Regions from separate parts of the Homo sapiens genome. Here region 1 is linked to region 2. Evidence: promoter capture Hi-C in human tissues and cell types (Jung and others, 2019). All regions are on one chromosome and are shown on one strand. The core of a region is centred on a gene start or on the middle of the fragment in contact, and the rest is flanking DNA. Distances in the headings are between cores, read along the strand shown. Region 1 has its middle 49 kb from the start of BTC. Region 2 holds the start of BTC (betacellulin).

Region 1 (3,597 bases), core at 908-3,407, 49 kb after region 2:
CACTGACCACACTTTTTGTTAGGGGTCATAGGCCTTTTCTGATCACTGTGCCTTAAATTAAGAAATGCAGGCTATTACTCACCTACCTGGGTAAATGCCTCTGGGATTGTCAAGTTCTGAAAATGTCTGAACACGATTGAGAAAATGTACACTATAAAGATATCCAAGTGGAGAAAAAGAGTCCACGTACACTTCTCATGGGCTTCCAGGTCTAATCTGTCACATGATCTGTCATCACTGAAAAGATGGATATTAGAATAATTTTTATTTCTCAGGAACTAGTAGTTGTACGCTAAGTATCAGACCTAATATACCCCAAAGCCTACTTTGTTAGGATCCCCTACTTGGATATGTTAAAAATCCACTCTCCTTCCAGTACATATGTTCAGATTGTGCACTGTTCAGGTGTTATGTTCAGGTATGCCACAACCACGGGAGCACCATTCACATCATGGACACATGATAACATTTGAGGGTATGTGGGCCAATGTAGAGATTTAACCTAATTGCCAAATCCTGGATCGGCAGGTGTATTAGTCAGGGTTCTCTAGAGGGACAGAACTAATAAGATAGATAGATATATTAAGGGGAGTTTATTAAGGAGTATTAAACTCACATGATCACAAGTTCCCACAATAGGCTGTCTGCAAGCTGAGGATCAAGGAAGCAAGCCCAAGCCCCAAAGCTGAAGAACTTGAAGTCTGATGTTTGAGGGCAGGAAGCATCCAGCATGGGAGAAAGATGTAGGCTGGGAGACTAAGCCAGTCTAGGCTTTTCACGTTCTTCGGCCTGCTTTTACCCTAGCCATGCTGACAGCTGATTAGATTGTGCCCACCCAGATTAAGGGTGGTCTGCCTTTCCCAGCCCACTGATTCAAACATTAATCTCCTTTGGCAATTCCCTCACAGACACACCCAGGATCAATACTTTGCATCCTTCAATCTAATCAGGTTGACACTCAGTATTAACCATCACAGAAGGCAAGACATCCTTTTACATAAACCCACACTTACGCATGTGGTCATGCACATATCTGGGGGAACATGCATGCACACACTCTGTAGCACACACATATGTGTATGACTGTGCCTTATTATGAGCTCACTCTGGGTGTTCCCTGAAGTTACATTTCTTGCTCACTACTCTTAGAGTCCTCATTCCTACCCAACACCATGCCAACCTGCCCTGGTCATCTCACAGGTGGTGCAGAAAAAGTGTATATGTTCCTGGTGTCCAGGATGTGGCACTGAGTGTCCCGAATTCTATGAATCTCTCAGAGAGTGGGTGCATGTGCAGACAACAGTCAAAGATGTTTACAGAAGCCAGATATTTGAAATGGTAACATTAGAAAATAAACTCTAAGAAATGAAGTTCTAAGCATTTGATTGCAAAGAATCCATATGAAGAAAGGGAAGGCTTAGTAGGAAACTCCTGTTGCTTTAACAGTATGTCAGTGAGCCTGGGTTTAAAGAAAGGAGAGATGTGAGGGGTGCTCAGGATTGAGGGTGAATATGGGACAATAAGGAAAATTGTACCAACAGTATAAGGAAGGCAAATAGAAGCTTGAAAAAAAAATCAGGAACGTGAACAAGAAATCTATGACCCACTGAGGCATATGGAGCGAGGGTAAAGCTACTTGTCTAAGGTTACATAGACACAGGGCATAAATGGCAGAGCCAGAGTTTGGACCCAGGTCCCTGCCAGACTGTTATAATACTGCTCCTCATGTTTAATACATTGGTGAGTCCTGTTGGTGTTACTTCTGGCCTTGTTTAGGCTGTCATCTAGATAATTACAATTTCCCCAGATCAATCTCAGCTGAAATCCATTCCCCAGGATCTGCATAGACTAATCTTCCACCTGACCATGTCGTTCTTTTTCCGAAAACCCTTCTAGGGCTTTCCATTTTTCCCCTAAATATGATAGCTGGCTCTCCTTGATTTGACCCCCATATCCTCTGGAGTTCCAACTCCTGCCCCTCCCCTTCCAATACTCAGCAGTGAGACTGCACATCTAATGGGTCTCTAAACTTCTTCATGTTTCCCTGCCTTTACTCACGTTGCCCCCTCCACTAGGAATACCTTCTTCTCAACCTCCCATCACAACATCATTCAAAGCTTAGTACAAGCCCTACCTCCAACCTCAGGTTACATTTTCTGAACTGCCAGACTCAGAGAGGCACCTTATGTGAATCCCTACCATGGTACCTTGGCCCTCTTACAGTGCTTACATGGCACTGAATTTTCCTCAGCTACTTGTGGATCTTTCTACCTCACTAGAGTTTGAACTTATTAGGACATTAAACATGCCTGATTCATTCCCCCCTCAACGTCTACACAAGCACTTTGGCTGCTCAAAGAAAATGTTCGTTCAACTCTACATTACATTGAGCATCAATTCCTCTGTGGCCCATAGAGCAGGGTTCCCCAACCCCGGGGCCAGTACCGGTCTATGGCCTATTAAGAACCAGGCCAGCACAGCAGGAATTGAGTGGCAGGCAAGCGAGCAAAGCTTCATTTGTATTTATAGCCACTCTCCATTGCTCTTATTACTGCCTGAGCTCCGCCTCCTGTCAGATCAGCAGTGGCATCAGATTCTCATCGTAAGGCAAACCCTATTGTGAACAGCGCGTGGGAAGGGTCTAGGTTGTGCACTCATTATGAGAATCTAATGCCTGATGATCTGTCACTGTCCCCCATCACCCCCAGATGGGACCATCTACTTGCAGGAAAACAAGCTCATGATTCCCACTGATTCTTATGGTGAGTTGTATAATTATCTCATTGTATATTACAAGGTAACAATAAAAGAAATAACGTGCACAATAAACGTAATGTGCTTGAAACATCCTGAAACCGTCCTCACCCTTCACCCCCACCCCCACTCCTGGTCCGTGGGAAAATTGTCTTCCATGAAACCAGTCCCTGGTGCCAAAAAGGTTGGGGACTGCTGCCATAGAGCCTTTTATTTACTTTTATTTCATTTTATTTTACTTTATTTTATTTTACTTTTTGAGACAGTCCTGCTCTCTTGCCCAGGCTGGGGTGCAGTAATGCGATCTCAACTCACTGCAACTTCCACGTCCTGGGCTCAAGTGATCCTTCCACCTCAGCCTCCTGAGTAGCTGGGACTGCAGGGGCACACCACTACATCCAGCTAATTTTTGTATTTTTTTTATTTTGTAGAGACAGGATTTCACCATGTTGCCCAAGCTGATCTTGAACTCCTGGACTCAAGCAACCCACTCTCTCAGCCTCCCAAAGTGCTGGGATTACATGCATGAGCCACCACGCCCAGCCCCCATAGAGCCTTTTATTATTTGGCCATCCAAACCAATCCAAAGTTTCCCCCCTCCCTTTTCTATGGAATGCACCTTACAGCTCTAGGCTCTCTGGTCTCCTCATAGTCCTAACTGCACACCCTTTCATTCCTATGGCTTCCTCTCCCTGAAACACCCTCTTATTGACTATGGAGATGCCAATAAGATGCCATCTATCCACCCTCATCCAGACTAAGGATAAACTTCTTCATAAATCCATTCACGACAGCACTGGTCTACTTCATTCATTTCCATACAGCAATGACACTCAATAACAG
Region 2 (4,037 bases), core at 816-3,315:
TCAGGTCCTCTGGCCCACAGGCGCCCCCCCTTCCTATACTGCACCTCACTGACAGATTTATCACCTTTAAACCATTGTTTGCATCATATCACTCCCAGTCAAGCCCTGTGATGGTGTGTGTTTAATAGCTTATTGATTCTGTTCCAAATATTCTAATCTGGCTTTTTCAGTTCTTCATAATCTGTCTGCCTCTCAGAAATTCTACTCTTTCCAGTAAAGCATGCTCATTCGCATCGCCAACCCTTTACTAAATGCTTTTTCCCTTGTCTCTGTTCCCTCTTTCCTCTCTACTATTGCAAACTCTACCCAAGCCTCAAGGCACGCATTCGTGTCCTCCATTCAGCCTTTCCCCACTATTCCAGCCCCCGCTGTTGAGCTCTTTCTCCCTTTTCTGATTCCGTGAATTTTTCCACAGGTTACCCTGCTGGGCTTGCATATCCAAATTCAGTGCAAGTTCTAGGGCAGGAATCATGTTTTATTTTAGGAATCTCATGAGCCCTTTCCCCACCTCCATTGCTACATACCTCAGCACCTTGCTGACTACGACAGATTCTCAGGGAATACTTTGACTGTTGGATAGTTTAGACACGGTGGAGGAAGAGAATGTCAGCTACTTGCAAGCAATGCTGGCAAAAGCATCAGTACTATTTCTAGGGTTAAGTCTCAACCCCATTGCTCTTCTTCATGAATGTACACATTCACTCTACCACTAAATTGTTACTGACTCCTTCCTCTTCAGCGTTTGTTAAATAAGTTTATTTTCTCTAACCTTGGTCCTAAGTCTGATCCACCTCCAAGCAAGTTCACTGTACCTTTTTAGCCACCTCTCTTACTCCAAGGACACAGTCAAATGAAAGTTTTCATTTAGGCTCCCCCTCTCTTTCCTCAATAAGAGGAATTCCCATTCTTTTTCATTTGTGGTGTCCCCTTCCCAGGCTTGAAGGTAGGAGTGATATCGTGGTGACACTTCAGCTGTGGAGACTCTCCTCCTACCACATAAATGCTCCAAACCCAGATGTGTCTACAGCCCAGCTAAGATTAGAAAATGTTACTGGTTTCCCTTCCCTTCTCTGCCCCGCAAAATGACCATGATGCAGAGAGCAAGCTTTGAAGAGTTGGGATTTTTTCCTACTTAGAAGCCTTCTCACTACCTTCCCTCGGTGGAGGGGAAGGGGAAGCCTGCTTCCAGCCACATCTGAAGTTCCAGCTCTGCTTTGTGAGTTCTGACTCCTAAGGAGGCAGGAGAGACCCTCTGGAGGGCTCTAGGCATCCTGCTACTCCTCCTCCCGCTGGCACTCTTCCCTAACGCCAGGTGATCACACCTTCAGTCAAAGAGTTCCCGTTCTTCTGCCTCCTGCAGGATATGCTTCTTGGTCTATACTACCACGTGAGCTTCTTTAGTGGGTTTCCCTGCTCGCCCCTGCCCCCACCCCCCGACCCTCACTTGCGAGCACAGCGCCTCACCCCGGTGGACAGCCCGCCGGCGCCGCCAGGCCCTCTGCTGTGCGCACAAGTCAGCAGCTGGCGGCCTGCTCGCAGCACTGGCAGCGAGGACCTCGGAATCGCTTCCGCCCTCGGGCCTTCTCACGCGTCTAGGGACTGCCTCCAGCAGGTGCAGCCCCAGGTGCCCAATTGCCAGATCTTTAACCTCGCGCTCTCCCAGCCTTCAAAGTTCTCCAACCCGCGCCTGCCAGCCCCAGCGCGCCCTCTTGTCCAGATGCCAGCTCGGTTCAGGGTTCGCCCTCCCCGCGACTCCAGCCCCAGACTTTCCTCCTGGTTTCCAGTGCCCAGCACGGCCACTTACCCAGGGCAAGGGCCAGGAGCAGTGGCAGGGAGCTGGCGCCGCTGCACCGGGCGGCCCGGTCCATCAACCCCGCTCTGCCGGGCCGGGCAGCCCCTAGACAAGTCTCCCTCCTTCTTCGCCCCCTTCCCGGGCCTCGGGCGCCTGAGAGGGTGCCTGGAAACTAATCCCGGAGGCAGAAGGAAACGAAACTACTTCCCAGGCTGGCACCCTGGCTACAAGGCAGGGAAACACCCAGGGCGGGAGGCCGGCCGGCTCCGTGAATGTCGCCGGGAGGAGGGAGCCTCCTATTTATCCCCCCTCCTCCTGCACACACCCCGCCAAAGAGGCGCAGGACTTGGTCCTGGGAGCCTCCACGCTGCTCCCACCCAAATTGCCCCACACCCATACCCACACCCAGGGACATATTCGGGCTGCCCTCGGACCAGCTCACCACTCCCCCTGCTGGGTCTCACCTGACTGACTGTTCATTTCCCTACCCCCTAGGGCGTAAACAAGGTAGGGAGGGAGATGTAAAGAATCCGCGTGGAGGGGTGTCGGGGGTTCCGGTCGGGCCTGCAGGCTGACCTAAACTCCTGGAAGCCACCGAGGAAGAGTCAGAGACCCAAACGTGTTCTGGAATTCTAACTTCCTTTATTTCAGAGGATTGCTAGTGTCATGGAGAAACCAGACTCACCATTCATTGTGGTTGACTTCAGGCATTTGATAATGCAGGCAATTTCAAAAGAGTCATTGTTGCCTTTTAAAGTCTTGAAGCCATAGCGAAACCTCGTCTCTACAAAAAATACAAAAGTAAATTAATAGCCGGGTATGGTGGTGTGCACCTGCAGTCCCATCCATTCCCTGAGGCTGAGGTGGGGAGGATCGCTTAAGCTTGGGAGATGGAGCCTTCAATGAGCCTAGATCGAGCCACTTCACTCCAGCCAAGGCGCAAGAGTGAGACACTGTTTCAAAACAACGACAACAACAACAACAACATCAGCAACAAAAAAAAAAAAAAAAAAAAAGAAAAGAAATGAAAAAAGTCTTCAAGCTAGTGTCTTAGTTTCTGGGTGCATTGTCTTCTAATAATTCATAAAATTGGGGCTCACCAGGACCTACTTTAGAAATTTCATTTGTATTTCTGTTTATGAATTTACTCATGTATTCAGTATATTTTCATTTACTTGCATTAAGCAATTTCTGGAACAGAAAGACATCCTCACAGCTTTTAGAGAAAGCAAGCAGCATCCAATTTTACCTTATGTGGTTATATATTGCCTCCAAGATAACCAAAAGATACAGCTGCTTTTGTACTGGTCTGTGTTCCTCATATAAGATTTATGTGGATAATTATGCCCCTCAGTACAGAAATTTTATTTCTATAGCATCCAAAAGTCATGTAAGCCTTATTTTACATATGAAATGTAGTTTGGGTGTCTGCCTCTTCCTCCTCATCCTACTGTTTAAGTTAAGTAAATTGTTGTGCACTTGTCTCCCACGAATAACATTTCATTTCAAAACTAAATTATTTTACTGCCCCAGGCAACTGATATATCCGGTGGAATAAAAATCAGCTCTTAATTTTCAGAATCCCATTCTAGTCCCACATGACAGCTCATAAAACATTGGTAGAGAGGGCAGGCATGAAGTTTAAAGAAACCCAAAGTTGTAAGATGGAAGGTTACTGCACCCCAGCTAAAAAGAGCAGAAACACTGGAAGCCAATGGATTTTGACATCATCTCCCTCCCTCTCAACACTTCCACCCTGCATTTTTCTTTTCTGATATTCTCTCCATCTCTCAGCACCAGTGCCCTAAGTTAAAGTATCTCTTACTCCAAGATGGCATTTAGCCTAGCCAACAGCTGTCCTGTTAGCCCCAACAGAATGCTACAATTTTGTTTTCCTTTTTCGTAGATACTAATAAAAAAAAAAAAAAGCGAGACCTAAACAAAAAGTACTAAATGTTTGTTGAGCATTGGAAAATTCCAGGACTTGGTGTAAGTATTCATCATTTATGCCATTCAAGTGGTAAATTAACTTTTTCAGGCCACTAGAATATGAAGTAGTATAATTTAATATACTAAATAGGACAGATAAATTAATAACCTTCCTTGAGGGCTTTATTTACCACCATAAATAAAATAAGTACTCCCAAGAAAATCCAAATTTTCTGACACTGGATATCCAATCTCTTCAATGTTAAGAGACTTTTCCTGTCTTTTTTTGTTTGTTTCTTTTTTTTCCCCTCACTTT

The links. The method cuts DNA at HindIII sites, captures the fragments that hold promoters and counts their contacts. A contact is called where the count stands out against the background at its distance.
Region 1: a contact is called between a fragment that was not itself captured here and the fragment with the promoter of BTC in region 2, in 2 of the 25 tissues and cell types used here (H1 embryonic stem cells and pancreas).

What each region holds. Positions count from the first base shown.
Region 1 is chr4:74,841,461-74,845,057 of GRCh38, forward strand. No RefSeq gene overlaps it. Among named protein-coding and RNA genes, the nearest start is that of BTC, 49 kb to the left of the region's middle. The HindIII fragment of the contact is 4,890 bases long and covers 1-3,597 here.
Region 2 is chr4:74,792,458-74,796,494 of GRCh38, forward strand. BTC (betacellulin) reads right to left here and starts at 2,066. Exons shown (of 6, transcript NM_001729.4): 1 at 1,805-2,066. The coding sequence starts at 1,868. The HindIII fragment of the contact is 8,112 bases long and covers 1-4,037 here.